Linked DNA regions of Homo sapiens: all the other regions are linked to region 7. Evidence: promoter capture Hi-C in 16 types of primary human blood cells and fetal thymus (Javierre and others, 2016). All regions are on one chromosome and are shown on one strand. The core of a region is centred on a gene start or on the middle of the fragment in contact, and the rest is flanking DNA. Distances in the headings are between cores, read along the strand shown. Region 1 overlaps LMNB1-DT (LMNB1 divergent transcript). Region 2 overlaps LMNB1-DT (LMNB1 divergent transcript). Region 3 overlaps MEGF10 (multiple EGF like domains 10). Region 4 has its middle 58 kb from the start of LMNB1-DT. Region 5 has its middle 68 kb from the start of SPMIP10. Region 6 overlaps MEGF10 (multiple EGF like domains 10). Region 7 holds the start of MARCHF3 (membrane associated ring-CH-type finger 3).

Region 1 (3,907 bases), core at 645-3,144, 280 kb before region 7:
TTCTCTTTCAGTCTTTCTTTACATTCGTTCTTTCTTTCTTCCTTTTTGAGACGGAGTCTCGCCCTGTGGCCCAGGCTGGAGTGCAATGGTGTAGTCTTGGCTCACTGCAACCTCTGCCTATCGGGTACAAGCAATTCTGCCTCAGTCTCCCGAGTACCTGGGATTACAGGTGCGCACCACCACGCTCCGCTAATTTTTTGTATCTTTAGTAGAGACGGGGTTTCACCATGTTGGCCAGGCTGGTCTCGAACTCCTGACCTCGTGATCTGCCCGCTTTGGCCCCCCAAAGTGTTGGGATTACAGGCCTGAGCCACCGCGCCTGGCTTTTTTCTTTTTTAAAATTTATTTTGATTTTTTATAGATACGCGGTCTTTCTATATTGCCAAAATTCTTGAGCTCAAGCAATCCACCCACCTCAGCCACCCAAAGTGTCGGAATTACAGGCATAAGCCACCAGGCCCACCCTGGTTGTTTTAAAAAATATATTCCTTGTTCAGTCTCCACAACTTCACTGTAGACTCTGTATTTGAAATATCTTTGTTTTTTCTTAACATACTACTTTTTATTTAATTTGACAAATATATGTTAAATAAAAAAAATTTTTTTTTGTTTTGAGATGGAGTCTTGCCTTGTCGCCCAGGCTGGAGTGCAGTGGGGCGATCTCGGCTCACTGCAAGCTCCGCCTCCCGGGTTCACGCCATTCTCCTGCCTCAGCCTCCCAAGTAGCTGGGACTACAGGCGCCCGCCACCATGCCCGGCTAATTTTTTGTATTTTTTTTTTTAGTGGAGACGGGGTTTCACCGTGTTGGCCAGGATAGTCTCGATCTCCTGACCTCGTGATCCACCTGCCTCGGCCTCCCAAAGTGCTGGGATTAAAGGCGTGAGCCACCGCGCCCGGCCCTAAATAAATGTTTTAAGTCCTTTCCCTGTGCATCTAATTTGTCAGACCTGTGTCCAATCTAAAGTTTAAGTCCACGTGGCTCTTAATCTCTCTGAGAAGAAAAGTCTAGTAGGGAAGATAAATGATATGCTTATTTGATAAATATTTATTGAACTTCCTAATAGCAGGAATGATGCTAGGCACTAGGGATGCAAAGGTGAATTGGTCAGGGTTCTGGTGCTGGAGGACTCACTCAGTGTGGCGGGAATTGTCAGTTTCCGCTGACAATAATGTTACCAGCGGAAGAGATCAGAGCCACCCTGAGTTACCAGCCACCTATCCAGCCTTACATCTGTATAGGTACGCAGCAACTTTGGTTCTTGCCTTCTCAGAAGAAAGAATTCTACTGAAGGGCATAAGGAGCGAGACAAGTTTCGGAGCAGGAATAGAAGTTTGTTTAAAACGGCTTTAGAATAGGAAAGAAGGAAAGCACACTTGGAAGAGACCCAAAGAACAAAAAGGGAGAGTCAAGTGCCCCATTTAACTGTGATACTAGGACTTTTTTTTTGAGACGGAGTCTCCCTCTGTCACCAGGCTGGAGTGCAGCGGTGTGATTACAGGCATGAACCACCGCGCCCGGTGATACTAGGACTTGTATAAGCTCACCTCTTTCCCATGATTCTTCCCTTAGGGTGGGCTGCCCGCCTGCACAGTGCCCTCCTTACCCTTTGGAATTGAGCACAGCGCAGTGTGTTTAGGGAGTCATAAGCATGCCTATCTGAGGCTTTCTTCCTTTTGCCGGTGGAGTTTACCTGGAAGATCATAATTCGCCATTTTTGCCTCTTAATATGCATGCCCAGGAAGTTTCTTCTCCCTGAGGCTTGCATTCAATTAACATTTCATATTAACAGGTGTGGACCCTCAGGAAATGCCTTTTCCCTGGCGCTGCCGAATTATCGCACTCGGAGAGGCAATGCCGTAATTGCTGATAGGCTTAGTGGGTGGGGGAGAGCCCTCTCCTGTCTGGCTCCTGCCTATCCAACTACCTGTAGGTAACAATAAGACTCACTCACTGAACTTAACGAAAAAACCTCTAAGAGATGTTTGAAATTTGCATTTAGACCAGGAAATGTGTGGTCTTATAAGACATCCTCACAAAAACGTAGGACTAGGAGTTCTCTTAAGATCGTCTAACAATTATTTGAGTGATAAAGAACACTAGGCCAGGCCCAGTGACTCATGCTTGTAATCCCAGCACTTTGGGAGACCGAGGCGGGCAGATAATCTGAGGCCAGGAGTTCGAGACCAACCTGGTCCAACATGGTGAAACCCTGTGGCAGGCACATGTAATCCCAGCTACTGGAGAGGTTGAGGCAAGATAATTGCTTGAACTCGGGAGTTGGAGGTTGCAGTGAGCCGAGATCAAGCCACTGCACTCCAGCCTGGGCAACAGAGCGAGACTCCATCTCAAAAAAAAAAAAAAAAAAAAAAAAGGCCGGGCGCAGTGGCTCACACCTATAATCCCAGCACTTTGAGAGGCTCAAGGCAGGCGGATCACGAGGTCAGGAGTTCAAGACAATCCTGGCCAACATAGTGAAACCCTGTCTCTGCTAAAAATACAAAAATTATCTGGGCGTGGTGGCACGTGCCTGTAATCCCAGCTACTTGGGAGGCTGAGGCAGGAGAATCACTTGAACCAGGAAGTCGGAGGTTGCAGTGAGCCAAGATCGTGCTGCATCACTCCAGCCTGCCGGCAGAGCAAGACTCCGTCTCAAAAAAAAAAAACCAAAAAAAAAAACAAAACACTAATTGAGAGAGTAGAAGTCAATGAAAGGATGTTCTAGTTAGCTACAGGTTGGAACTCTAACCCAAATCACCATTTGCATTCTTAATATGCCCCCAGTTTCAGGCGATTTCTTTTTGGGCACACCAGAGATCAGACAAATGCCATAATGCCTACTCTGCCCCAAATGGGGATTTTCAGGTATAGCAAGTGTAAATATAGCTTTTTCCAGAAGAAGCGGGGTTGGGTGGGAGGGGAAAATCACACAATTAATTTTCATGATAGAGATCCCAAGAAAGAAAGTGGAGGTGCTTACTGTGATTTCAGTTTAATTAGAAACACATCCTGAATGTTAAGACAAAACCAAAAGTGTTGGTTTCATTTGAACTTGAGAAGAATTGGAGACTATAGACTTAATTATGTTTCCCATCCCCATAGTAAACAATAAACACCTATTATGTTCTTCCAGAGTTAACCAAGTCTATGAGCCAATGTAATCAGTCCAATGAATGTGTTAGAATAGATACTACACATTTTGTGGGTGCTACTGCAGCTTGTATGTGTTGGCAGCAGTTCCGCTTTATTTCCTGCTGATTTTTTTTTTTTTTTGTACCTTCACTGCCATATAATGATTTAGGACTTTTGCTTCCTGAGGTCAGTGAGAACATTCATATCTGATACTTAACTCCAGAAGAAGATTCTTGTTTAGTTATGAGAAAGTGAATGGCTTTAGTGATGATTCGCAGAAATCTCCCAAGTGATGATGGAATTCTGAAAGGAAGTATAACGTATTTTTACTTAAAAACAAAAAAACAAAAAACAAAAAAACCCCACAAAAACTACCCAGGACAAAAAAAAAAAACATTTAAGTTAACAGACCTCATATTTCCCCCAGAGTCCTTAAGTGATTTTCTAAAACATTGTGTTAACTTACCTTCAAATAATTTAAAACACATCAGCTTTAAGAAAATGTGGCACATATACACCATGGAATACTATGCAGCCATAAAAAATGATGAGTTCATGTCCTTTGTAGGGACATGAATGAAATTGGAAATCATCATTCTCAGTAAACTATCGCAAGGACAAAAAACCAAACACCGCATGTTCTCACTCATAGGTGGGAATTGAACAGTGAGAACACATGGACACAGGAAGGGGAACATCACACTCTGGGGACTGTTGTGGGGTGGGGGGAGGGGGGAGGGATAGCATTAGGAGATACACCTAATGCTAAATGACGA
Region 2 (3,964 bases), core at 203-2,702, 260 kb before region 7:
TCACTGTTCTGATTTCTTTCACCATAAATTTGATTTACTTGTTCTTAAACTTATATAAATAAATCTTACAAGATGTACTTTTTATTACCTGGCTTCTATGGCTCAATATAATGTTTATGAGATTCAACCATGTGGTTGGTGTACCTGCCATTCCTTTTTTTAAAATTGCTAAATAGTACTTATACCACAATCCATTTTTCTATTCTCCTGTTGATGAACATTTGGATCTTTTTCAGTTTTGGCTGTGTAGGGAGTACAAACTTTCCCCTACTCTTAGCTTCTATGGCTGGGCCTGAGAATTAAACTGACCTGATACATTTCTTTGTGGCGTGATCTTGGCTCACTGCAACTTCTGCCTCCCGGGTTCAAGCACTTCTCTGCCTCAGCCTCCTCAGTAGCTGGGATTACAGGCGCCCATCACCACACCCGGCTAATTTGTGGATTTTTAGTAGAGACAGGGTTTCACCATGTTGGCCAGGCTGGTCTTGAACTCCTGACCTTGTGATCCACCCGCCTTAGCCTCCCAAATTACTGGGATTACAGGCGTGAGCCACCGCGTCCGGCCAACCTGAGACATTTCAATAGGATAAAAGTATACAAATTTTACTTAATATTTTTAATTGTACCAGAGGCTTCATAAGAAAAAACAGACCGAAGAAGTGGTTAGGACTGAGAGTTTATATAAATGTCCTTTCTTTTCTTTTTCTTTGAGATGGAGTCGCACTCCACTGCCCAGGCAGGAGTGCAGTGGTGCGATCTCACATTGCAACCTCCATCTCCCAGGTTCAAGCAGTTCTCCTGCCTCAGCCTCCCGAGTAGCTGGGATTACAGGTGCCTGCCACCATGCCAAGCGAATTTTTGTATTTTTAGTAGAGATGGGGTTTCACCATGTTGCCCAGGCTGGTCTTGAACTCCTGACCTCAGGTGATCCACACCCCCCCCCTTGGCCTCCCAAAGTGCTGGGATTACAGGCGTGAGCCACTGTGCCTGGCAGAGTCTTTTCTACATCTGCTGTAATTCCCAATTGGCTTCAGCTCAAAATAATCAATATGCCAAAAGCGACATTCTGGGGTGGCATGTTCTGAACCCCTTCAGCTACTATGAGTAAAGCTACTATAAACTTCTTGTTCAAGTCTTTTAGTGTACATATGCTTTCATTTGTCTTGGGAGTGGAATTGCTGGACTATAGGACCCATTTTTACCTTTATAAAGAACTGTTAAACAACTTTCTTTCTCTCTCTTTCTCCTTCCTTCCTTCCTTCTTCCCTCCCTCTTTCTCTCTCTTCTCTCTGTCTGTCTTTCTTTCTTTCTCTTTCTTTTTTGAGTCTGGCTGTATTGCCCAGGCTGGAGTGCAGTACCATGATCTCGGCTCACTGCAACCTCTGCCTCCTGGGTTCAAGAGATTCCTGCCGGGCGCGGTGGCTCACGCCTGTAATCCGAGCACTTTGGGAGGCCGAGGTGGGTGGATCACGAGGTCAGGAGATTGAGACCATCCTGGCTAACACGGTGAAACCCCATCTCTACTAAAAATACAAAAAAATTAGCCGGGTGTGGTGGCAGGCACCTGTCGTCCCAGCTACTTGGGAGGCTGAGGCAGGAGAACGGCGTCAACCCCGGAAGCAGAGCTTGCAGTGAGCAGAGATTGCGCCACTGCACTCCAGCCTAGGCGACAGAGCAAGACTCCGTCTCAAAAAAAAAAAAAAAAAAAAAAAAAAAAAGAGATTCTCCTACCTCAGCCACCCCAGTAGCTGAGATTACAGGCACCCGCCACCATGCCTGGCTAATTTGTTGTTGTTGTTGTTGTTAAATTTTAGTAGAGATGGGGTTTCACCACGTTGGTCAGGCTGGAGAACTGTCAAACAATTTCTGAAGTGGTTGTACTATTTTACACTCCCATCAATAGTATATAAAAGTTTCAGTTGCTCCTGTACTCTGTATGTAAATTGGAGAGGTCCCTATTTACTTTTCAGTGTCATCTCTTTTCAGAGACTTTAACAGAATGTATTTTGTAGCATTAAATTCCAAGTATGTGGGCAACCAAATCCTGGATAATTCTTGCCCAGTTACCAATATAAATTCTCAACATACACAAATACAATATTTCATACAAAAGATAGTCATCTCATTTTATGTGATAGTTTTATTCCTGAAAAACTTATAAAGCTAATTTGTGTAATTCAAATCATTAACTGAATGCATCTTCCCCTACTTCCATGTCCAGTTCAAATGGTCCTCTTGCAGGATGTTCTATCATGTTGTCCTGAACTGAAGTGATTCCTTCTTTAAATTTTAGCAGTTTCAGCCGGGCGCGGTGGCTCACGCCTGTAATCCCAGCACTTTGGGAGGCCGAGGCAGGCGGATCACAAGGTCAGGAGATCAAGACCATCCTGGCTAACACGGTGAAACACCGTCTCTACTAAAAAGCACAAAAAATTAGCCAGGTGTGGTGGCGGGCGCCTGTAGTCGCAGCTACTCGGGAGGCTGAGGCAGGAGAATGGCGTGAACCCGGGAGGCGGAGCTTGTAGTGAGCGGAGATCGCACCATTGCACTCCAGCCTGGGCAACAGAGCCAAACTCTGTCTTAAAAAAAAAAAAAAAATTTAGCAGTTTCAGTGATTTGACACTTGTCATCAATGTCAGTTCTTTGGGCCTTCATAATTTATGGCATCATTGCTTACCCTATTTAATCACATGTAAACATTTTATTTCCACACACACACACACACACACACACAAACAATACAGTGCCTTCACTGAAGGAAGGAACTATATCTTATACTTAAAAACAAACAAACAAACAAAACAAAAAACTCCTAGGCCAGGCATGGTGGCTCATGTCTGTTATCCCAGCACTTTGGGAGGCCAAGGTGGAGGATTGCCTGAGCCCAGGAGTTAGAGACCACCCTGGGCAACATGGTAAGATCTCATTTCTTTTCAAATTTGAAACAAAACAAAACAAAATTCAGTCATCCAGTGGAGTGTCTTGCACATAGGAGGTACTCTAGCATTTCTTGCTTCATTGGTTTTTCTGTTTTTGTTTTGCTTTAGGCAAGGTACAACTGTTGTTTTTTTTTTTTTTTTTTTTGAGACGGAGTCTCACTCTGTTGCCCAGGCTGGAGTGCAGTGGCACGATCTCGGCTCACTGCAAGCTCTGCCTCCCAGGTTCACGCCATTCTCCTGCCTCAGCCTCCCGAGTAGCTGGGACTACAGGCACCCGCCACCACGCCCAGCTAGTTTTTTGTAATTTTAGTAAAAATGGGGTTTCACCGTGTTGGCCAAGATGGTCTCAATCTCCTGACCTCGTGATCCACCCTCCTCGGCCTCCCAAAGTGCTGGGATTACAGGTGAGAGCCACCACGTCCGGCCTTTAGGCAAGGCATAACTGTTATGACAGCTTAAGTAAATTATATGCTTTTTAAAAATTATATGGTAATTTTCTCAATTTTCCATTTTTCTTGACTAGTGTAAGCCAGACCTAAGTTAAGATTATTGACTAAAATACACTTCTCTTACCACTTTACAAATTCCTAGTTTAAACCACCTCCTGCTTGGTGTGGTTTGAAATAAAAAGCACACCATAAGGAATTAGAGATTCTGTCTGGGGTTTCCCTCTAATTCTCCCTGGGGGCTGTGGGTTGCCATTTACAGCCCTCCACAAGGTTTTGAGTCCTTTTGCCAGTCCCTGAAGGCTGATATTCTCAGAAGCCCAGCTTAGAGATCATCTTGTCTGCTCCCTCCTCCTGCACACAGAAACTTGCTCCATCCTTAACATGCCTACACCGCTTTGTTCATGCCTGTTTAGTACTTGACATTTTGAGGCATAATTTATTATATACATGTTTGCCTGCCCATAGCTGGACCGTTGAGCTTCTCCAAGCAGGGATCATGTACCTTAGACATTCCTTGCTTGGCATGTAGTAAGTGTTCAACAAATGTTTGTTGAATAAATGCACGGATTAATGAGT
Region 3 (4,109 bases), core at 730-3,229, 300 kb after region 7:
CATTTATTTTCTAGAACAAATGAGGCCAGCTACCTCTGTGTGCCCTCCTCTTCTAGAAGGGAAATATGCCAGGTGAGAGAATGTGGAGGCTTGTGTTGCTCTGAATTGTTCTGGTAGATTTCTTTAATATTGGCTGGCATAAATGAGAAGGGCTTTTGTTCTTGTGGCAATTGATGATGATTTGCATATTTTAGTAATTTACAAAATAGTAGCCACCTTGCACAACATAAGAAACACCCCTCTCTCCTGGACCATGGAATTTGGTGACCTGGCTATTGAAATACATGGCTTGTTATGCACATTTCAGCCCCACTGACAACTGGTACCTGGTGGTTGCTGTACTGAAAAGAATTCTGTGTGAGTCATTTCAATGCATTTCTAATTGGGATTTTTTCTTTCTTGTAGGTTGTTCTTCAGAAAAAAATGGTTATTTCTTTGAACTCATGCCTGAGCTTTATTTGTTTATTGTTATGCCACTGGATTGGGACAGCATCACCTCTGAATCTTGAAGACCCTAATGTGTGTAGCCACTGGGAAAGGTAATGGTTTTGAAAGGAGCCTGACAAAGAATTGCTGAGAAGTTCCCTTATATACTGTAATTATCAGTCAGATGTATAAAATTAGAATTTGTGAAGAGATTGTGAAATTACTTTTATGTAAAAATCATTAGTCATAGCTAGCAAATTAGGTGGTGTTAGTCACCTTGGTCTTATAGCATATATATTATGTGAAAAAAGTCTTGATATATCTAATTCTAATGCAGGTGCAATTGTAAGATTCAGGGAAGACATTAATAGCACAATTAAAAGATCTTCCTAATGTCTTGTCTCTGATTTGAATTTGCATTAATTTTGGGGAGCTGGACTTATGCATGGGAACCCATGAGTGAGAAGTGGAAAGCAGCATGAGATAATATACTAAAGTATTGAAATATATGGGATTTAAAAGAATTTTGCTGTAGATGGCTTGAAAACGGAGACCTAAATTTGGTGTAAACTGGCAAGGCTGCATAGAGGTAGTGTCCCCTGAGATGCTCTTGAAGAACTGAATAAGATGAGTGGGTTGCAATGATTGGAAGGGGATCTTGGAAGGGGAGTCAGTTTGGCAGTTTGAAATCAGTGCCATGTGGACCACCGAGAACTGTGCACAACCAGAGCAGAGTTAGTACCGTATTGGAGGAGGGTGTGGTTATGTGAAGGCAGATGATGTAATGTCTAGATATGAGCAATTTGCAGTAGAAAGTACAAAACAGTAGATCATCCTCTGGGACTTTATAGTCCCTTTTGGAACACAAAAATAGTGCAAACCCATCCAGCGATATTGCAGTACAATCAAGTCCAGTTGGCTCTGCTCTAATGTGCTACTTGAATTTCCCAGAAATTATCTTATCCAAAAACTGTAAATGCAAGTGTTTTAAACAAAGAGAAGATGTTAAGTACTGGAGGGTAATATGTATTTTTAATAGCTGTAAGTACAATTATATCAAACTCTTGATCTTCAGCACCATGATTAGCAAACCACAGAGCACACATTCTAATCACCTTTGTTCCCCACTGTTAGGATGCATAAAGCCCAGAGCCTCTCAAGCACAGCAGTGGTATTATTCTGGGGACATGCTGGTTTCTCACTCAGTATTATTTTTGGTAAGGGCTTATCCCTACCTCCATTGGTAGTGTTACAAGCAGGGTAATTAAAACATAATTACCTGATTAGTCAATGGAGTTATATATTATTATGAAACTTTAAGCTGCAGAGAGAATATATGTATATAATAAAGTTCTATATATTTGTGGTATTAACTACATTATACAGAATTTAAGCAGAAGGACTTCCTATTAGTGCTCTTTATAATATTTACAGCACCTCCCATAAGGCATTTCATCAATAAAATATATAATAAATACTTATTAAAGTCATGAATCATTGGCTACATCAATGGGTACAGGTCAAATTTAGTAAAGGAAGAGACCATTGGTAGTTGAACTTCTTGGAGGGATGATAGATTTGGGATGGGAGGAAAAGTCAAGTTTGTGAGATGTTGTGAAATAAGAATCAACAGATCTTGATAATACATTGACTGAGGAAGTGAAGGAGGCAGAGAAGACGAGGATTTAGAACTTGCTGTGTGAAGTAATCCAGATGACATTGCGCATATGGAAAAATAAAAGAAAGAGATTTGATTTGAAAGGGAAGGGGTTAGTGTGGGTTTGCCATGTTGTGTTTATAAAATCAGTTTAAAATATGGGCCTGGAAGTATTTGGGAATATAGATTTGGGAATATCCAGCATGATGAGATGTGAGATGTGAACAGAGGAACTCTCTGAGGGAAAGACTATAAGAGAAAAAAAGGTTGGGTGCGGTGGCTCAAGCCTGTAATCCCAGCACATTGGGAGGCCAAGGCAGATAGATCACTTGAGGCCAGGATTTTGAGACCAGCCTGGCCAACATGGCAAAGCCCCATCTTTACTAAAAATACAAAAAGCCAAGTGTGGTGGTGCATGCCTGTAATCCAGCTACTTGGGGGGCTGAGGCACAAGAATCACTTGAACTCAGGAGGTGGAGGCTGTAGTGAGCTGAGATCATGCCACTGCACTCCAGCCTGGGTGACAGAGCGGACCCTGCCTCAAAAAAAATAAAAATAAAAATAAAAAAAGAGAGAGAGAGAAAACCATTTCAAGGCTTCAAATAATCCGGCACCCACTTATAAATACACATTTTGTCCTGCTTCCCTGGTCAGCAGTTGACCAGAGCTGCCAATGCATAAGTGCATTGTCTGGCTCACCACTGATAATTCCCACTGTCTAAAACACTGCCTTGCATGTGGCATGTGTTTAATAAATTGTTGAATGAGTGAGTTCATCTTCTGATAGGAAACGAAATGACTAAATATGTACATCAATGTGGGAGGGGCATGGAGAGTGAGAAAGACAGATAGACAAGGGGCACATTAATCTCTAAACCTAATAGAACCCAACAACTGTGCAAGTGATTAGTGCAAACTCTAAAATGCTCATGAAGGGGGAGGGAAATTGAATGTGAACAAATAGGAAAATGATGAAAAAAACTTCCAGTTTTTTTAAATGTACTGCCAGGAAGAAGAGTTGACAGCTATAATCTTCTTACTGATAAATTTTCTGTTGTAAGGCTAGATAATGATTTCTAGAAGAAAGGTAAAAGAAAGTAGAATTGTTTTGATAAGAATGGGGACCAGTATAGAAGATAAATTAAAATGATCAAATAAAGGCACAGGTGACAGGTTCGTCTAGTATTTTCAAAAATGTAAATGGGCTTGAACTGAAATGGGGAGAGGAAGATGAGCTCCAAGGGCATAATTCTGGTAGTAGGGCTCATTTTAAGCTCTTCTTATGCTCAAAACCACCTGTACCCAATGGCTCAGAACCATGCAATCACCTGGAGGTTACTTCTCAGACTGTGGTTTGCAGAGCTGAGGCATGAACTTGTTAGAAATACAGACTCTCAGGTCCCACCCCAGACCTACTAAATCAAAATCTGCATTTTAACAAGATCCCAGGGAGGTTTGTCTGCATATTCAAGTTTGAGAAGCACTAAACAAAAATACTTCCATCAATGGCTTCTAGCTGCATCCCAATTGATATCTGAATATTTATTTTGAAATAGAGATGTGCCTTGTTTTAATGCAGCGATTGTGATTCTAAGAAATTGTACATAAAATGAAATTAAAGAAAATGAAATCATTTAAAATACTCAAGGGGTGTTTATGATTAAAGGAACTCTGTACAGTGTCTTTTTGGAAAATGAATAACTCTAGAAATTATCTATTCCTTCTCCTAACCTTCTTTCTGTATTCTATGAATTTGAGCTTTTCCATTCAGTGGGGTTTCTTCTAAAGAAGGCACAAGTGAAGAGAAACCACACTTTGACCAAACCTTCAATTACTAACACAGAAGGGAGAGTAATTGAATCAGCAGTCCTGAAGCAAGCAGAGATAAGAAATGAAGATTATTACCATATCTGATTAAAGTAACAAGATAATTTAGGCAGGTAAAATGTAATTAACCACTTTGGAACGTGCCCAAGTGATAATGTCTTCCTCCCCTTATTCTCCATCTCCTCCCCCACTCCCTGGT
Region 4 (3,932 bases), core at 1,056-3,555, 310 kb before region 7:
CCAGGCTGAAGTGCAATGGCACGATCTTGGCTCACTGCAACCTCTGCCTCCCAGGTCCAAGCAATTCTCTTGCCTCAGCCTCCCAAGTAATTGGGATTACAGGCACACGCCACCAAGCCCAGCTAATTTTTGCATTTTTGGTAGATATGGGGTTTTACCACGTTGGCCAGGCTGGTCTCAAACTTGTGACCTCAAGCAGTCCACCTACCTTGGCTTCCCAAAGTGCTGGGATTACAGGCGTGAGCCACTGCGGCTGGCTGCTGAATATTTTTGTAATTACTTTTACAGGTAACTTTATTTTGAGACAAAGGGAATGAAAAATAGACTTGTATACCAAGGCCAGTGTGTGTGTGTCTGTGTGTGTGTGTGTGTGTGTAAGAGCCCATATTAATTCTTCATCTCCCATACTGTGAAATCACTAGATAACACCCAAAAGGGGAAATTCAAGAAGTGGTATTATAAGCATATTATTTAGAGACATGGTAAGTATCAAAAGAATGAGCAAAAGTAGTTAAAAGCATTGATCTGGGAAATGGGAAATTGAAGTGGGATGTAGGCGGGGTGACTGGTTGGGATGGTGAGGAGCAGCTGGGATTTTTCTTTATAACAAACTATGGAATTTTTTGACTCTACACTGTGTGTGTATATAATTTTTGGAAAAAAGAAACAAAATGAGAGTGATCACTTCTAATATGAGGTTATAGGAAAAAAAAAAGAATGTATAGCCAACTAGTTAAATACTGCCAAGAAAACAGGAAAGGAGCCATTATTACATTTGCTAGCATGGGCCCATTGGTGACACTCGAACAACTTCATTCCACTAATAGGAATTAAAACAGATAGAGATAAACATTAACCACACTTAACTAACATTTTCCCCAAGTATTGCAGATATTTTGTAACATACTTAATTATAAATGTGTTACTTTCATTTTTATGGGTATTCCTTCATCGTACTGAAGTATAGAACCTAAAGGAACTACCCTTATAAATAATTTTAGTTTTTCGTTTTGGTTTTGGTTTGGTTTTTATCTCCCTTTCTTTTTTCTTTTTTTCGAGACGGAGTCTCACTCTGTCGGCAGGCTGGAGTGCAATGGTGCGATCTCTGCTCACTGCAACCTCTGCCTTCTGGGTTCAAGCGATTCTCCTGCCTCACCTGTCGAGTAGCTGGGACTACAGGCACGCGCCACCATGTCCAGCTGATTTTTGTATTTGTATTTGTATTTGTATGTATGTATGTATGTATTTACTTATTTATTTATTTATTTTTGAGACAGAGTTTCGCTCTTGTTGCCCAGACTGGAGTGCAATGGCACGATCTCGGCTCACCACAACCTCCGCTTCCCGGGTTCAAGCGATTCTCCTGCCTCAGCTTCCCGAGTAGCTGGGATTACAGGCATGTGCCAACACGCCCGGCTAATTTTGTATTTTGAGCAGAGAAGGGGTTTCTCCATGTTGGTCAGACTGGTCTTGAACTCCTCACCTCAGGTGATCCGCCCACCTCATCCTCCCAAAGTGCTGGGATTACAGGCATGAGCCACTGCACCTGGCCAATTTTTGTACTTTTAGTAGAGATGGGGTTTCACCATATTGGCCAGGATCGTCTTGATCTCCTGACCTCGTGATCTGCCTGCCTCAGCCTCCCAAAGTTCTGGGATTACAGGCGTGGGCCACTGTGCCCAGCTTATTTCCTTTTCATGGTAAATAATTTTAGTTTGTTGGGTTTTGTTTGTTTTGTTTTGTTTTTGAGACAGCTCTGTTGCCCAGGCTGGAGTGCAGTGGCGTGATCTTGGCTCACTGCAACCTTGGCTTCTTTGGGTTCAAGCGATTCTCCTGCCTCAGCCTCCCAAGTCGCAGGGATTACAGGTGCCCACCACCATGCCTGGCTAATTTTGTATTTTTAGTAGAGACAGGGTTTCACTATGATGGGCAGGCTGGTCTCGAACTCCCAACCTCAGGTGATGCGCCTGCCTCAGCCTCCCAAAGTGTTGGGATTACAGGCGTGAGCCACCGGGCCCAGCCTGGTTTTTTATTAATTACAGGTTATTCACGGCCATTCTCTCTAAAGTCAATTAATTAGTTGTAGAAAGCTTCAAAGTAAGCTAGAGATGAGTTATCCTTTGCTTAGGGGAAGGATTCCATTACTGGTATGTTGGAATTAGAAAGGCACTGGTCTAGATGAAGACAGGGATATTCAGATACACATTTACAGTATTTCCTGCTCTCCCAGACCAAATTAACATTCCACTGTCGCTAAGAAGAGAAAGAGAGGAGAGACCACACAGGAAGACATGAGCAGAGAAAGAGCATCGGTGTTGGTCAGGAACAAGGAAGCCTCCTGTCAGTGGAGGTCAGCTCCCAGAGGCTGTTCAGTCTCCATGTATGAGAGGGCGGTTCACTGCTCCGCTGAGGTGCCTTGCTAATTGTCCTTGTCTGGCGACTCTCCCCTATCCCACTCACAGAGCGGTTAGCATACCACACATTGCTTGTCTATCAGAAACGGCAACCCCCTTTCCCAGCAAAGCTTTTTCCACCTCCCTACCCGGCAGCTCTTCGTACTCACCTGGCCCTCCCTAGCCTGATAGCTCTCACCAGAACAAGACTGGGCCAGACAGAAGCTGGGTGCCATCTCCCACTGAGCAGGGCTATGGGGGAAGACACCTTCCATTGCAATCACAACTGGGTTGGGCTATCAGTAGAAAGCAGAACATAAGGGCAGGAAAGGATGGAGGAGGGCCACATTTACTTCTCAGCTCACATTTCACAAAACACTGCCAAGCTCTGCAAATTCTACGTTCAGAAATTCCACCCAGGACCCTGGCCTCCAGGTAAGGAGGATAGGAAGGGCCAGTCCTAGATACCGCCTTGTCCATCTGCACGCTGGTGAGTGAAACAGTGTCTTTACAAGGTGACTACTTTATGCCATTACTTTTATTCTTATTATTCAGTTTTTTAAAAAACTCATTTCATTACCTAAAAAAAAAACAAAGAAATATTTCAGGTATATAACCACCAAAGTTGGCTGAAAATATTTCTTATTCTTCCCTTTTTAGCATTACATGTTGGATAAGATTACAACCAGCTCGAGTCCAAATGTGATTTAGAACATTTTCAGTTCCAAAGAATGATGAAGTATGAAGTAATTTGTTTTGGGCTAACAAACTAATTTCAGCTGAATTAATGGTAAAATTTTTTTAATTACCCAAATATGTTTTTAAAAAAAAACCAAACTGCAGAAACTCACTTATTTGTAAGAACATCCAAGCACTGTTAATTCCAAGCACTGTCATCTTAGATCTAATGCTTTTTGTACATAGCATTGATTTCTGAGGTTGCAAGTGCTTACCTAAGCCAAACTTAGACAACAGGGCAACAACTTAGTGCTTTGAAACATTCTATAAATTTTTCTAAACATCACTAACACTTGCTTTAATGTTAATCTTTTTTCGAACTCTTAAAGACTAAAAAGTGAATTGTAATTTTATATTTTAAGGCTTAGTCTTTGTGATAATAAAAGTAATTTCCTGGCCAGGCATGGTGGCTCAGGCCTGTAATCCCAGCACTTTGGGAGGCTGAGGCAGGTAGATCACCTGAGGTCAGGAGTTTGAGACCAACCTGGTCAACATGGCGAAACCCCATCTCTACTAAAACTACAAAAATTAGCTGGGTGTGGTGGCGCATGCCTGTGATCCCAGCTACTTGGGAGGCTGAGGCAGGAGAATAGCTCAAACCCAGGAGACGGAGGTTGGCGTGAGCTGAGATCGTGCCATTGCACTCCAGCCTGGGCAACAAGAGTGAAACTTCGTCTCAAAAAAAAAAAAGACAGTAATTTTCCTGACAGTCTTCAAAAATTAGTCTTTAAACTCAATACTATATTTTCTTAAGAATCCATTAAGTCTTCAGAATTCAAAGATTAAAGACACTTGGAAATT
Region 5 (3,971 bases), core at 714-3,213, 330 kb before region 7:
TTTACAACTTTATGAAGCATGTTTTTAGATACATTTAGTAGTTTTTACTTTGTTATATTTACAACTTTCACGTTCATTTCTGAATCAATTCCTAAAGGTGTACTGTTGACCACTGTCTTAGTCCATTTGTGCTGCTATAACAAAATATTTGGAACTGGGTAATTTATAAAGAACAGAAATTTATTGCTCACAGTTCTGTGGGCTAGAAGGTCTAAGATTAAGGTGCTAGCAGATTTGATGTCTGGTGAGGATTTGGTTTCTGCCTCCAACATGGCACCTTGTTGCTGTGTCCACATGGCAGAAGGGCAAAAGGATCTAGGGGCTGGGCATGGTGGCTCATGCCTGTAATCCCAGCACTTTGGGAGGCCGAGGCAGGCGGATCACCTGAGGTCAGGAGTTCAAGACCAGCCTGGCCAACAGGGTGAAACCCCATCTCTACTAAAAATACAAAAATTAGCTTGATGTGGTGTTGGGCACCTGTAATCCCAGCTACTCGGGAGGCTGAGGCAGGAGAATCACCTCAACCTGGGAGGTGGAGGTTGAATGGAGCTGAGATCACGCCAGTGCATTCCAGCTTGGGCAACAGACAGAGACCCCATCTCAAAAAAAAAAAAAAAAAAAGAAAAAGAAAAAATGAAGGAACTAGGGAGCTCCCTTAAACCTCTTTTATCACAGCACTAATCCCATTCATGATGGTGGAGAGCTCATGACTTAATCACTTCCCAAAAGGGTGCCACCTCATAATTCTATCACATTGGGTATTAGGTTCTAACATATGAATTTTGGAGGGACACATACATTAAAATCATAGCAACCACCCGGGCTCTGTGGATAAAGTATTGTTTGGATGGGCATCCAAAAGCAATTTCTTTTATTCATTTCATGTAGCAATTAATATGTTTTAATTATTATTATGTGCTCTTCTGCAATACCGAGACACCTCTTTTATTTTTTGGTCTGTTTGGTATAAGGAAAACAACTTTGAATTGTGACTCTAAAGTTTCTGTCTGTTCTCTGATGAAAGATAAAATGGTCACTTTCTACTAGAGAGCATAATATTGTGGTTCTTTTGGAAAAATCAGCTGATTTATGAGATAGGTCATTGGGCTTTGTTGGAAATTATGAAAATGGCTTAGTAGCTTTAAAGCACCATTTGAGAAATTGAGATTTTCCCTGTATGCAGTCTTAAAATTAAACTAGGGACATTATTTAAATTGACATTTATAGATGGGGTAGCATTCTGGGTGTTTTTGAGGTTTGTTTTGTTTGGTTGTTTTTGTAGAGATAGAGTCTCCCTATGTTGCCCAGGCTGGTCTCAAACTCCTGGGCTCAAGCCATCCTCCTGCTTCAGCCTCCCAAAGTGCTGGGATTACAGGTGTGAGCTACTACGCTTGGCTGGGAAAGCATTCTGGAAAGTCTGTTTTGTTTTGTTTTGTTTTGTTTTGTTTTGTTTTCAGATCAAGTCTTGCTCTGTCACCCAGGCTTTACAGTGGCACGATCTTGGCTCACTGCAGCTTCCGCCTCCCAGGTTCAAGCAATTCTCGTGCTTCAGCCTCCTGAGTAGCTGGGATTACAGGCCCTTGCCACCACACCTAGCTAATTTTTGTATTTTTTTAGTAGAGATGGGATTTCACTATGTTGGCCAGACTGGTCTCAAACTCCTGACCTCATGATCTGCACCTCGGCCTCCCAAAGTGCTAGGATTACAGGCGTGAGCCACCGTGCCTCACCTGCATTCTGCAAAGTTTTGTCTAGAATTTCCATGTCCCACATCTCCACCAATGCTTAGTGTTATATAACACATGCCCATCTGATTGATGTGGAATGGTATACGTGTATATGTGTGTTTTGTTGTTGTTTTAAATAAGTAGTTTTTTTGCAAAGACCATACAAACTTGCACTCTGTAGCAGTGGTTTGTCAGTAAGTTGTAGAATTCTTGTGGATTTAAAATACACTTCCCCAAACGCTAATGAGGGTGAGCATTTTTCATATCTGCACTGGCCATTCAAGTTTTGCCTCCTGACAATTCCTTGTTCTCATTATTTGTTCATCTTTTGCCTTTTTTTTATCACTGTTTATCAATATAAATATTCCGGATATTAATCCTTTATCTATAAGATGTATTGGCCAGGCATGGTGGCTCACGGCTGTAATCCCAGCACTTTGGGAGGCCAAGGAGGGCAGGTCACCTGGGGTCGGGAGTTCGAGACCAGCCTGACCAACATGGAGAAACCCTATCTCTATTAAAAATACAAAATTAGCTTGGTGTAGTGGCACATGCCTATAATCCCAGCTACTTGGGAGGCTGAGGCAGGAGAATTACTTGAACCCAGGAGGCAGAGGTTGTGGTAAGCCGAGATCTCACCTTTGCACTCCAGCCTGGGCAACAAGAGCGAAACTCAAAAAAAAAAAAAAAAAAAAAAAAAAAAGGTGTATTGCAACACTTTCTTCAAGTCCGTGGTTTGTCTTTTAAGTTTATATTTGATTCTTTCTATTGAGCTGAATTTTAAAACTAACTCAACTTTTTCATTATCTTTCTTTGTATTTTGTGCCTTCTTTAAGGTTTTAAGATCCTTTCCTGCCTACATGTCATAAAGATATGCTGTTTTGTTTTGTTTTGTTTTGTTTTGTTTTAGATGGAGTTTCACTCTTGTGGTTCAGACTGGAGTGCAATGGCAAAATCTCGGCTCACTGCAACCTTCGCCTCCTGGGTTCAAGTGATTCTTCTGCCTCAGCCTCCTGAGTAGCTGGGATTTACAGGTGCCGGCCACCATGCCTGGCTAATTTTTGTATTTTTAGTAGAGATGGGGTTTCACCATGTTGGCCAGGCTAGTCTCAAACTCTGGACTCAGGTGATCCACCTGCCTCTGCCTCCCAAAGTGCTGGGATTACAAGCATGATCCACCCCGCACAGCCCCAGATTTGCTTCTATATTTTTTCTTTCTTTCTTTTCTTTCTTTCCTTTCCTTTTCTTTCTCTTTCTTTTTCTTTCTTTCTTTCTTTCTTTCTTTCTTTCTTTCTTTCTTTCTTTCTTTCTCTCTCTCTCTCTCTCTCTCTCTCTCTCTTTCTTTCTTTCTTTCTTTCTTTCTTTCTTTCTTTCTTTCTTTCTTTCTTTCAGATGATGTCTCGCTCTGTTGTTCAGACTGGAGTGCAATGGTGCAATCTCAGCTCACTGCAACCTCCACCTCCCAGGTTCAAGTGATCCTCCTGCCTCAGCCTCCCAAGTAGGGTAGCTGGGACTACAGGCGCGTGCAAACATGCCTGGCTAATTTTTGTATTTTCAGTAGAGACGGGGTTTCACCATGTTGGCTAGGCTGGTCTCGAACTCCAGACCTCAAGAGATCCGCCCTCCTTGGCCTCCCAAAGTGCTGGGATTACAGGCATGAGCCACCATGCCCAGCCAATTTTCTTCTAAAAATTTTAACATATAAACTGCTTATTTAGCTCTAGTAACTACCTGAAATATATTTTATATAGGGTTTGAGATAGGGATCTCACATAGAGATACAGAGAGCTAATAAAGATAGTAAATATTTATTGTGTGTACTGCGTGAGTGCACTGTTTAAAATGATTTACCTGTTTTAACCCATTACATTCTCACAACTTCATGAGGAAATAATAACATTATCCTTGCTTATAGGTTAAAAAAAAAAATAGAGAAACAGGCCAGGTGCAGTGGCTCAGGCCTGTTCTCCCAGCACTTTGGGAGCCCAAGGTGGGCGACTGCTTGAGGACAGGAGTTCGAGACCAGCCTGGCCAACACGGTAAGACCCTGTCTCTATGAAAAATACAAAAATTAGCTAGACATGGTGGCACATGCCTGTAATCCCACCTACTCGGGGGGGCTGATGCATGAGAATCACTTGAACCCGGGAGGCGGAGGTTACAGTGAGCTGAGATTGCGCCACTGCCTTCTGGCCTGAGTGACAGAGAGAGACCCTGTCTGAAAAACAATAATACACATACACA
Region 6 (4,109 bases), core at 71-2,570, 290 kb after region 7:
ACCATCACAGATCTTAATTCCTTCTCAAAATTAAAACTTAAAAATATATGAATCTTGCCGGGCGTGGTGGCCCATGGCTGTAATCCCAGAACTTTTGGAGGCTGATAGAGGTGAATTGCTTGAGCCCAGGAGTTCAAGACCAGCATGGGCAATATGATGAGACCCGTCTCTACAAAAATACAAAAATTAGCCAGGTGTGTTGGAATGCATGTGTAGTCCCAGCTACTCAGGAGGCTGAGGTGAGAGGATCCATTCAGTTTGGGAGGTTGAGGCAGCAGTGAGCTGTGATTGTGTCACTGCACTCCAGCCTGGGTGACAGAGTGAGACCCTGTCTTAAAAAAACAAACCAAAACAAAATAACCCTTTTTCTTTCTGTCTATATTTCAAGCATATATTTTGAATCACTTTGTAATAAAAATCTTTTTATTTTCTAAAGTGTGCTAATCTAACACTCTAAGAACATGTTGAAGCAGAGCAGTCTTTCAGTTGCTGTAGACCGTAGCAATCTGCTAATTACTGAAGGTTCATCCTAGGGTATATTCCCACACATTGTTCTTTCTGGTGAAGTTTGCTGAAATGGGTCCCTGTACCAGGCCCACAGGCAGGCCCCAGGAATTGTGCTTTTTATCAATGGAGATGCAACACTTCAGAAGACGCTTTAGTGCAACAAAAGTCTGCCATATAAGTTTGGTGCCATTGCACCTTTGCTCTGCCTCCTTATCTTGCTTTATTACTTCCTGCTGGCTTCTGCTGCTTGACTCCCAGCCCCTCCTGGATGCTCCCTTGCTGCTGTCAAATGTTTGCTCATAGTCACCTCACCTTGCCCTCAGCTGATATGAATACCATGCCTGCAAGAATCATCACCAATGCAGCCATGTTTGAGCAGGTCCAATTATTGACAATACAGGAAGGCTAATGAGTAGAAAGCCTTAAGCTTTAAATGAATTTACAGAATGATTAACTATTAATTAAGCCATTGAAAGTGCCCATACGTTCTTTTCAGAGACTACATATTTTTTATCTCTAATTAAAACAAATATCCCCCAAACAAAACTTTCAGTGTTTTTTCATATTTGTAATCACTGGTATTGCAATCATTTTGTTTCAACTCTAGGATTTTCCACTGCAGTTGTATATTAGCAATTAAATGATAATCTTGACCTTCCATTTCTGCCTTTTAAATATTAAGAATAATGATTTCAGGGTTCCAGAACAAGTGATTTGCATATTCTGAGCTTTATTTTTCCTGTGGGCCATACATTCATTCAAGAATACCAAGAACATGTAGAGATGAACAGTGTACCATTCTGACATTAAGGAGTCTGGTAGCTAGTGGAGAGATGAGCGGTGTGGTGTGTGTTACTACTCTGACGAAGAACACATCAGCTACTCTTGGGATGTTTCAGGGTGTTACAGGAGCAAAGAAGAAGAATGACAAGGTTAGCCAGGGAGCTCTTCTAAAAGAAAGTGACAGTTGATCCTTAAAGAATGAGTGAGAATTAAGTTGAGCAGATAGTTAAGGGCATTCCAAGAAGGAACAGCATGGGCGAAGACAGAGGAGTGAAAACCTCTAATGTTTGGGGAAAATCAAGTACCTGAGAATTGTTCAAGCGACATATACATGAGTTTGTTGAGTGATGAGGCTGGACTCAGATATCTTGAGTCTTAAATGCCAGTTTGAATTTTACCTAAAAGGCAAGCTCTCAAAAGCTTTTAAGAAGGGGAGTGTGGGGTTGTTTGTTTTTTTCTTGTAAATTTGTTAAAGTTCTTTGTAGATTCTGGATATTAGCCCTTTGTCAGATGGGTAGATTGCAAAAATTTTCTCCCATTCTGCGTGTCCGCTCTGATGGTAGTTTCTTTTGCTGTGCAGAAGCTCTTTAGTTTAATTAGATCCCATTTGTCAATTTTGGCTTTTGTTGCCATTGCTTTTGGTGTTTTAGTCATGAAGTCTGTGCCCATGCCTATGTCCTGAATGGCATTGCCTAGGTTTTCTTCTAGGGTTTTTATGGTTTTAGGTCTAACATTTAATCCATCTTGAATTAATTTTTTTATAAGGTGTAAGGAAGGGATCCAGTTTCAGCTTTCTACATAGAAAATGTGGCACGTACACACCACGGAATACTATGCAGCCATAAAAAAGGATGAGTTCATGTGCTTTGCAGGGACATGGATGAAGCTGGAAACCATCATTCTGAGCAAACTATCACAAGGACAGAAAACCAAACACCCCGTGTTCTCACTCATAGGTGGGAATTGAACAATGAGAACACTTGGACACAGGGTGGGGAGCATCACACACCAGGGCCTGTCATGTGTCCCCTGTCATGGGGGAGGGATAGCATTAGGAGAAATACCTAATATAAATGATGAGTTAATGGGTGCAGCAAACCAACATGGTACATGTATACATATGTAACAAACTTGCATGTTGTGCACATGTACCCCCTAGAACTTAAAGTGTAATAAAAAAAAAGTGAGGGGGGAGTGTGATGTTCTGACTTGTGTTTTTAAAGCATTGGTGACAGTGTGGAGGAGGAATTGAGTTGATTGGTAAAAAGGATGAACTGATCAAACTGAAAAACTAGTCAAAGTTAGTGTTTCTTGACATTGGTTTTGAAACTTTGCTCTCAGTAATGGGATCAGTAAATATGATTAGTGCCCTTATAAAAGAGACCTCAGAGTGCTGCCTTGCGCCTTGCACCATGTGAGAACACAAGGAGAAGGTACCATCTATGAATCAGGAAGCAGCCCCTCCCCAGACACTGAATCTGCCAGCGCCTTGATTCTGGACTTCCAGCCTCCAGAACTGTGAGAAATAAATTTCTGCTGTTTTTAAGGCACCCGGTTTATGGCACTAGGTTGTAGCAGCCTGACCTAACACACCCATTGTATCTTTACAGTAAAAAGTCAAACTGAGGGATAAAAACTTGATGATGTTTTCAGGAATATCCAACCAAAAAAGTGGCCATTTCCTCATCCCTGATAGAAGTTTTTGCTAAGATAAAAAATGATAAACAGTTTTAAATCATGGGAACATACCAAGTAGCCATGGTTGGCATCACTGGCTAAAAATGCATCTACAAGAACTTTGAAAAGCAGATGAAGTAGCCAGATGATATGCTTTAAAAACTTGTAAAATCATCCTAGAATATACAAAGCTTAAAAATGCATGAAGTAAGAGATGAGAACTCTCCAACAATCTTGCCATTGAAAAATTGACTTAAACATAAAAAAAATAGGTTAATGAAAAACACTGCCAATAAGCAGATCAAACGTAATTGGCTGAGAATGAGGGGAGGAAAAACTAAAATGCTGGTAAGCCTATAAAAGTTGTAAAACTATGTATGCCCAATTGCAAACAAACAAACAAACTCAAACTCCTTTCCCAGAACTTTTAAAAAATAACAGAAGAGAATATTTTTACGGTACATAAGCAATGCACAATTGCCTAATGGTATATAAAAATTGCTAATTCCTGAAAAACCTGTGACTTGAAATATACATTTTTCAATAAACTTTTATTTGTCAAACTCACCAATTCTAAATCTTGTTCCAAACCCTTTTCTTTCCTTCTCTCTTTCATTACCTCCCTCCCTCCCTCCCTCCCTTCCTCCCTCCCTCCCTTCCTCCATCCCTTCCTTTCTCTCTTCCTTTCTTGATAGAGTCTGGCTCTGTTGCCCAGGCTGGAGTGCAGTGGTATGATCTCGGCTCACTGCAACCCCTGCTTCCCGGGTTCAAGTGATTCTCCTGCTTCAGCCTCCCAAATAGCTGGGATTACAGGCATCTGCCACCATGCCTGGCTAATTTTTGTATTTTTAGTAGAGACAGGGTTTTACCATGTTGGCCAGTCTGGTCTTGAACTCTTGACCTCAAGTGATCCACCTACCTCGGCCTCCCAAGGTATTAGGATTACAGGCATGAGCCACTGTGCCTGGCCTTGCTTTTCTTCTTTAAACTAGTTTTTCTTTTCTTAAAATATTTGTTCAGATTTACATAGTGGACTCGTCTCTATGTCTTTGTTTAGATTCATTCATTCATTTGCTGTGCTGGGTGCTGTTTTAGGTACTGAGGATACTGCAGAGAAAAAAGAAGGCATCATTGCACTGAGG
Region 7 (4,303 bases), core at 230-2,729:
GCAGATGCAGACATGCTTACGCATACACACTCACTAACACCCCACAGCTCAGAGGATCCATCTCTGTGACCCAAGGGAAGTTCAAGGCTGAATTTCCCCTTCATATATTTACCTCATTCACCTTTTAATTTTATATATACACACACTCACACATATACACGTATGTATGTGTGTATATGCGCATCTACATCTTCATATACACATACAGAACTATATATCTCAACATTTTCATGTATTTTCAAAGGTCTAAACATCCCCAAATTCTGGACCTGTTTCTGTCTAGTATTTTCAAAAGCTCTTATTCATGTCAAATAAGAATTGTAAGAAAATATCGTATTGAATTCTGTTTATTCCGCACATAATATAAACTACATGCATGTAGTTGGTCTCAGAAAAACAAGCTGCTTTTACCCCCTTACCATTAAGGGGGGAAAACAATCTAACCCAGACCGAGTCACAAACGGAGTGTCAGGTTTAACCTTGAGTTCTCTGCTGTCAATTCCTGACTCAACTTCATCACTTAAACACGCAGGTGCTCAAACAAACACCAACCGACCAGGCTGGCAATCCCTTTCGCAGCCTCTAGGATTCTCCAAGGCACTGGGCACCAGAACCGACAGCAGCTCCCGCCTGGTCCTAACGAAGTCCTTCGGACACCCCTTGCGGGTGGATGTGGAGGTCCGAGCACCTCAGGAGGGTCATGGATTCAAGTGCTAATAGAAAGCAATTACTTTAGAAAGTTCAAAGCCCAGCAGTGCTCTCAATTCCTCTCAGTAGCTGCAGAGCACTGAAGCCCCCGCTACAGAACCCGGCTGGTACTCCAGTTCTCTGGCGCTGAGACCCACCTTGAGCCCGATGAGCGCTCGCTCAGCCTTGAGATCCAGACGCGGACGCCGGGTCTTACCGTACCGCACAGCGCGGGTAATTTTTCAGGAACCGCGGTCCGCACGCCGCGGGCGCGGAGGCCGCCCCAGCGCTCCATGTCGTTGCCGCAGAGGGGCAGGGGACGCGTCCCGGCCCCACCTACCCATGTCAATTACGCCAAGTTGGTGCGGACTGGAACCGCGTCCCGGGCGGAGTTGGGATGCTTTGACAAGAAGAAGTTCGGGAGTGGGGATATTGGCACGGAGTAAATCCCGCCCAGCCCTGACCTCCCCACAGCGGTCACGCTCGGACGAACGGACCGCCGAGCGCCAGGACGCGTCCCGTCCCCTCTCGCCGCCGCCGAACCGCGCCGAGAGGAGCCGCTAGCCCGGCGCGCGGCCACTCACCGTCCTCGCCGAGTCCCGATAGCAAACCGACGTCCCTGCTGCGGTTCTAAGTGCCAAGTTGCCCCCAGTCGGTGGCTGCTCACGGCCCAGTGGACCAGGGCACATTGGTTCCGGCGGGCACCTCAGGGGGAGTGCGGCAAGCCTGGCGGCCGCCGCGGCCACACAGTCGCCCACAGCGCGCTGACAATTCACGGACCTGCTCAACGAGTGAGGCGGAAAGCAGGGCTAAGCCGACCAGGCTCTGGAGGGGAGGCGGGGCTGCCGCTAGGGGCGGAGCCAGCCCCGGGGCGTCATCAGCCCATGACTGGCGGAGCCGACAGCCAGTCGTGGTGGCGCTGGGACCGCCCCGTAACCGCCGTCCAGTCGCCTGCGGCCGAGGGCAGGCTGGCGGGACGCGCCGGCGGCGGGGAAGTTGGTTATTGCGAAGTGCCGTGGCTGCCGGCGGGCGCTGCGGGACTCTCTGCAATGGGACCCGAGCAGCTCTAGAGGGAGGCGGCGGCCCCAGAAGGCCGTTGGCTGAGAGAGACCAGGAGCCCTCGGAGCCGCCGCGCGCATAGCGCTGTGGAGCAAGAAGCCAACCGCAGCGCGGGTCGACACGCCAGTATCTGGCACCGGCAGGAGGCGCGGAACTTAGCTGCCCCATCGGAACCCCGCCCGGAGGAAGCTGAGGGCCGAGAAAGGATGAATTCCGGACCGGGTCGCCCAGCCACAAGTGGAAACCTGGGCTCTCTGGAAAACGTTCTGATCTCGATCTGGCTATCTCTGAAACAAAACTCCAGCCCCGCAAACCTCCCAAAGTTCAGTACACGTCCCCGTCCTCACCCCTGCCCTCCGGGCCACCTGCAGCGGGGGACTTACCGGCGCCTCGGGTCTCCTCCTCCCGACCCAGCGCGTCGCGGACACAGCTGGCGGCCAACAGGAGGCTTGGGCGCTCGACGGCGCCGGAACCTGTGAGACCGTCGCTCTGGGCGGGCTGCCGTGCGGGGTGGCATCCTCTGCGGTGACTTCTGCTGTCTTTTGGGTCCGCCAGGATTCCAAAATCCCAGGCGGGTCGCTAGAATTATCCATCTTCGTGGACAGGAAGCCCCAGAACGAACCACATCTGTCCCACTCTGCTTCCGCCCTCCTTCCCCTTCGCAAGCTCCTGGCTGGGATGGAGACATCGGACGAGCTCGGAGATCCCGACCTCTCAGGGGTCACTCGCAGCCGAACAGCCTGGAATATGGCCTTGTGGGCCCTTCCCGCCCAACCCCCTAGGACCCCACTGCTCATCTTGTCAACCAGTTTCTGAGCCCCTACCCTGGCTGCAGCACGTGCTCGCACAGGCGCGCTGAGCTACTAACATAGAATCAAAAGCAGGGAGTTGGGTGTTCTTGCTTTCCCGCTGAAACCTAGAATGTAAACAAGCCCTAGACCGTCAGCTGTGGGTGGGTAGGGGCCTCTCCCTGCCTAGAACTGCTCTTGCCATGGGTAGGCACCTAACCCGTATTAGTAAGAATGAAGGAATGCATGCTCATAACAAGAAAGGGGTCAACCTGCTGCCCTGATACTCACCTTCACCACTTACGTCTTGCTTCCAGCGCAAGCCCACTTCAGACCATTGCCTCATTCAGGTCCCAGAAGTCCTAAGGGTTTTAGTCTCTCAGTATGGGCAATTATTCACATGTAAGGGAGCTGCAAGGTGTTATTTCAATGCCATCTGGCCTCTATAAGGTCTTGCATCATAGCTGACCTCTCATGAGAAGGTTCTGATGAGGTCACCAGGGAGAAGGAATGTAAAGGGCTGGTGGCTGAAAAGGAGTGAAATGGCCCCTCTTAGGTGAGCTCTGGCCTGGTTTGAGTTTCAATTCTGTCTCCTCAGCTCCATTTCTCAATGGGAAAAGGTCCATAGGAAGGTTGTCAGAAGGGCAGGAGACTAGGGCAGGGATAGCCCTTTGCAGACCCTGAAAAATTGCTCAGTAATGCAAACATTGTCCATATTTAAGTTCTTTCTTTTCTTTTCTTTTTTTTTTGAGGCAGAGTCTCACTCTGTCGCCCAGGCTGGAGTGCTATGGCTTGGCTCACTGCAAGCTCCGCCTCCTGGGTTCACGCCATTCTCCTGCCTCAGCCTCCCAAGTAGCTGGGACTACAGGCGCCCGCCACTACGCCCGGCTAATTTTTCGTATTTTCAGTAGAGACGGGGTTTCACCGTGTTAATCAGGATGGTCTCGATCTCCTGACCTTGTGATCCGCCCGCCTCGGCCTCCCAAAGTGCTGGGATTAGAGGCGTGAGCCACTGCGCCCAGCCTTAAGTTCTTTATTTTCTATCTTGTGGACCAAAGGACTGCTACAGGCAAGGAAGACCATCTGACTCAATTCCAGAGGTTCCTTAGCATGCTGCTGACTGGCCTAGGAGAATGGCCTTTGCCCATAAAGTATTAGATGTAGACCACATGAATGGAATATTCACCAGGTTTCTGCCCAGGTCTGGATTGGGCAAGGACATGGCTGGAGGTGCCTTACAGGAGAGAAGGCCAAAGAGAGAGAAGACTTGACTCCCAACCTGATTCCAGCAGAACTCCACTTTGATGTGTTTTTAAAATTGTGCTCTTCTGTTTGCTTTCACGGAGGCTGCCATGAAACGTCATCTTTGACTAGAATTATCAGGAAATGCTCATGGAAGAAATATACTTCCTTGGATTTTTTTTCCTACCACACTTCAGGATATAACTAGAGAAAACATTTGCCAACAGTGCTTATCATATTAGTACCCTGTGAAGGTTTTCATAGATGCTGATTATTATTTTTAAAATCATTTCGGGAATAGGAGCCAAACACTAGGTCATGACTGTACTTACTTTAGTATTTACATTAAGTGATGAAAAATGGAAATAAAGGAAATGTCCTGTCATGAAACAAGTTAGAATTAGGTGACTTTCATGTCCTGATTTCCAAGGTTTTCTGTTTGTTTCAGACAGACAAGATCATCCATGGGTTCTTGGACAAGTAATAGGTCTCATTTTCCCTTGTAGACCAGAAGACATGGAAAAGAC

What was found. Contacts are between HindIII fragments. The CHiCAGO score rates a contact against its expected background, and 5 or more counts as called.
Region 1: a contact is called between a fragment that was not itself captured here and the fragment with the promoter of MARCHF3 in region 7, in 1 of 17 cell types (neutrophils). The highest score is 7.1, in neutrophils.
Region 2: a fragment that was not itself captured here is called in contact with the fragment with the promoter of MARCHF3 in region 7 in 4 of 17 cell types (neutrophils, total B cells, naive B cells and 1 more); the score reaches 10.0 in neutrophils.
Region 3: a fragment that was not itself captured here is called in contact with the fragment with the promoter of MARCHF3 in region 7 in 1 of 17 cell types (M1 macrophages); the score reaches 5.5 in M1 macrophages.
Region 4: a fragment that was not itself captured here is called in contact with the fragment with the promoter of MARCHF3 in region 7 in 1 of 17 cell types (neutrophils); the score reaches 7.8 in neutrophils.
Region 5: a fragment that was not itself captured here is called in contact with the fragment with the promoter of MARCHF3 in region 7 in 2 of 17 cell types (neutrophils and monocytes); the score reaches 13.8 in neutrophils.
Region 6: a contact is called between a fragment that was not itself captured here and the fragment with the promoter of MARCHF3 in region 7, in 12 of 17 cell types (naive B cells, M0 macrophages, M1 macrophages and 9 more). The highest score is 14.0, in naive B cells.

What each region holds. Positions count from the first base shown.
Region 1 is chr5:126,748,988-126,752,894 of GRCh38, forward strand. It overlaps LMNB1-DT (LMNB1 divergent transcript), which reads right to left. Exons shown (of 4, transcript NR_134485.1): 4 at 2,976-3,434. Among named protein-coding and RNA genes, the nearest start is that of LMNB1-DT, 26 kb to the right of the region's middle. RefSeq lists an enhancer at 301-1,226. The HindIII fragment of the contact is 8,892 bases long and covers 1-3,907 here.
Region 2 is chr5:126,766,248-126,770,211 of GRCh38, forward strand. All of the region lies in intron 1 of LMNB1-DT (LMNB1 divergent transcript), which reads right to left. Among named protein-coding and RNA genes, the nearest start is that of LMNB1-DT, 8.3 kb to the right of the region's middle. The HindIII fragment of the contact is 6,998 bases long and covers 1-3,964 here.
Region 3 is chr5:127,330,886-127,334,994 of GRCh38, forward strand. MEGF10 (multiple EGF like domains 10) reads left to right here. Exons shown (of 25, transcript NM_001256545.2): 2 at 406-539. The coding sequence starts at 424. Among named protein-coding and RNA genes, the nearest start is that of MEGF10, 42 kb to the left of the region's middle. The HindIII fragment of the contact is 4,677 bases long and covers 1-4,109 here.
Region 4 is chr5:126,716,055-126,719,986 of GRCh38, forward strand. No RefSeq gene overlaps it. Among named protein-coding and RNA genes, the nearest start is that of LMNB1-DT, 58 kb to the right of the region's middle. The HindIII fragment of the contact is 434 bases long and covers 2,089-2,522 here.
Region 5 is chr5:126,697,282-126,701,252 of GRCh38, forward strand. No RefSeq gene overlaps it. Among named protein-coding and RNA genes, the nearest start is that of SPMIP10, 68 kb to the left of the region's middle. The HindIII fragment of the contact is 7,151 bases long and covers 1-3,971 here.
Region 6 is chr5:127,315,439-127,319,547 of GRCh38, forward strand. All of the region lies in intron 1 of MEGF10 (multiple EGF like domains 10), which reads left to right. Among named protein-coding and RNA genes, the nearest start is that of MEGF10, 27 kb to the left of the region's middle. The HindIII fragment of the contact is 776 bases long and covers 933-1,708 here.
Region 7 is chr5:127,029,079-127,033,381 of GRCh38, forward strand. It overlaps MARCHF3 (membrane associated ring-CH-type finger 3), which reads right to left and starts at 1,480. Exons shown (of 5, transcript NM_178450.5): 1 at 1,272-1,480. It overlaps LOC105379163 (a long non-coding RNA gene), which reads left to right and starts at 2,265. Exons shown (of 2, transcript XR_007058920.1): 1 at 2,265-4,303. RefSeq lists a silencer at 1,442-1,821 and an enhancer at 1,818-2,362. The HindIII fragment of the contact is 7,560 bases long and covers 1-4,303 here.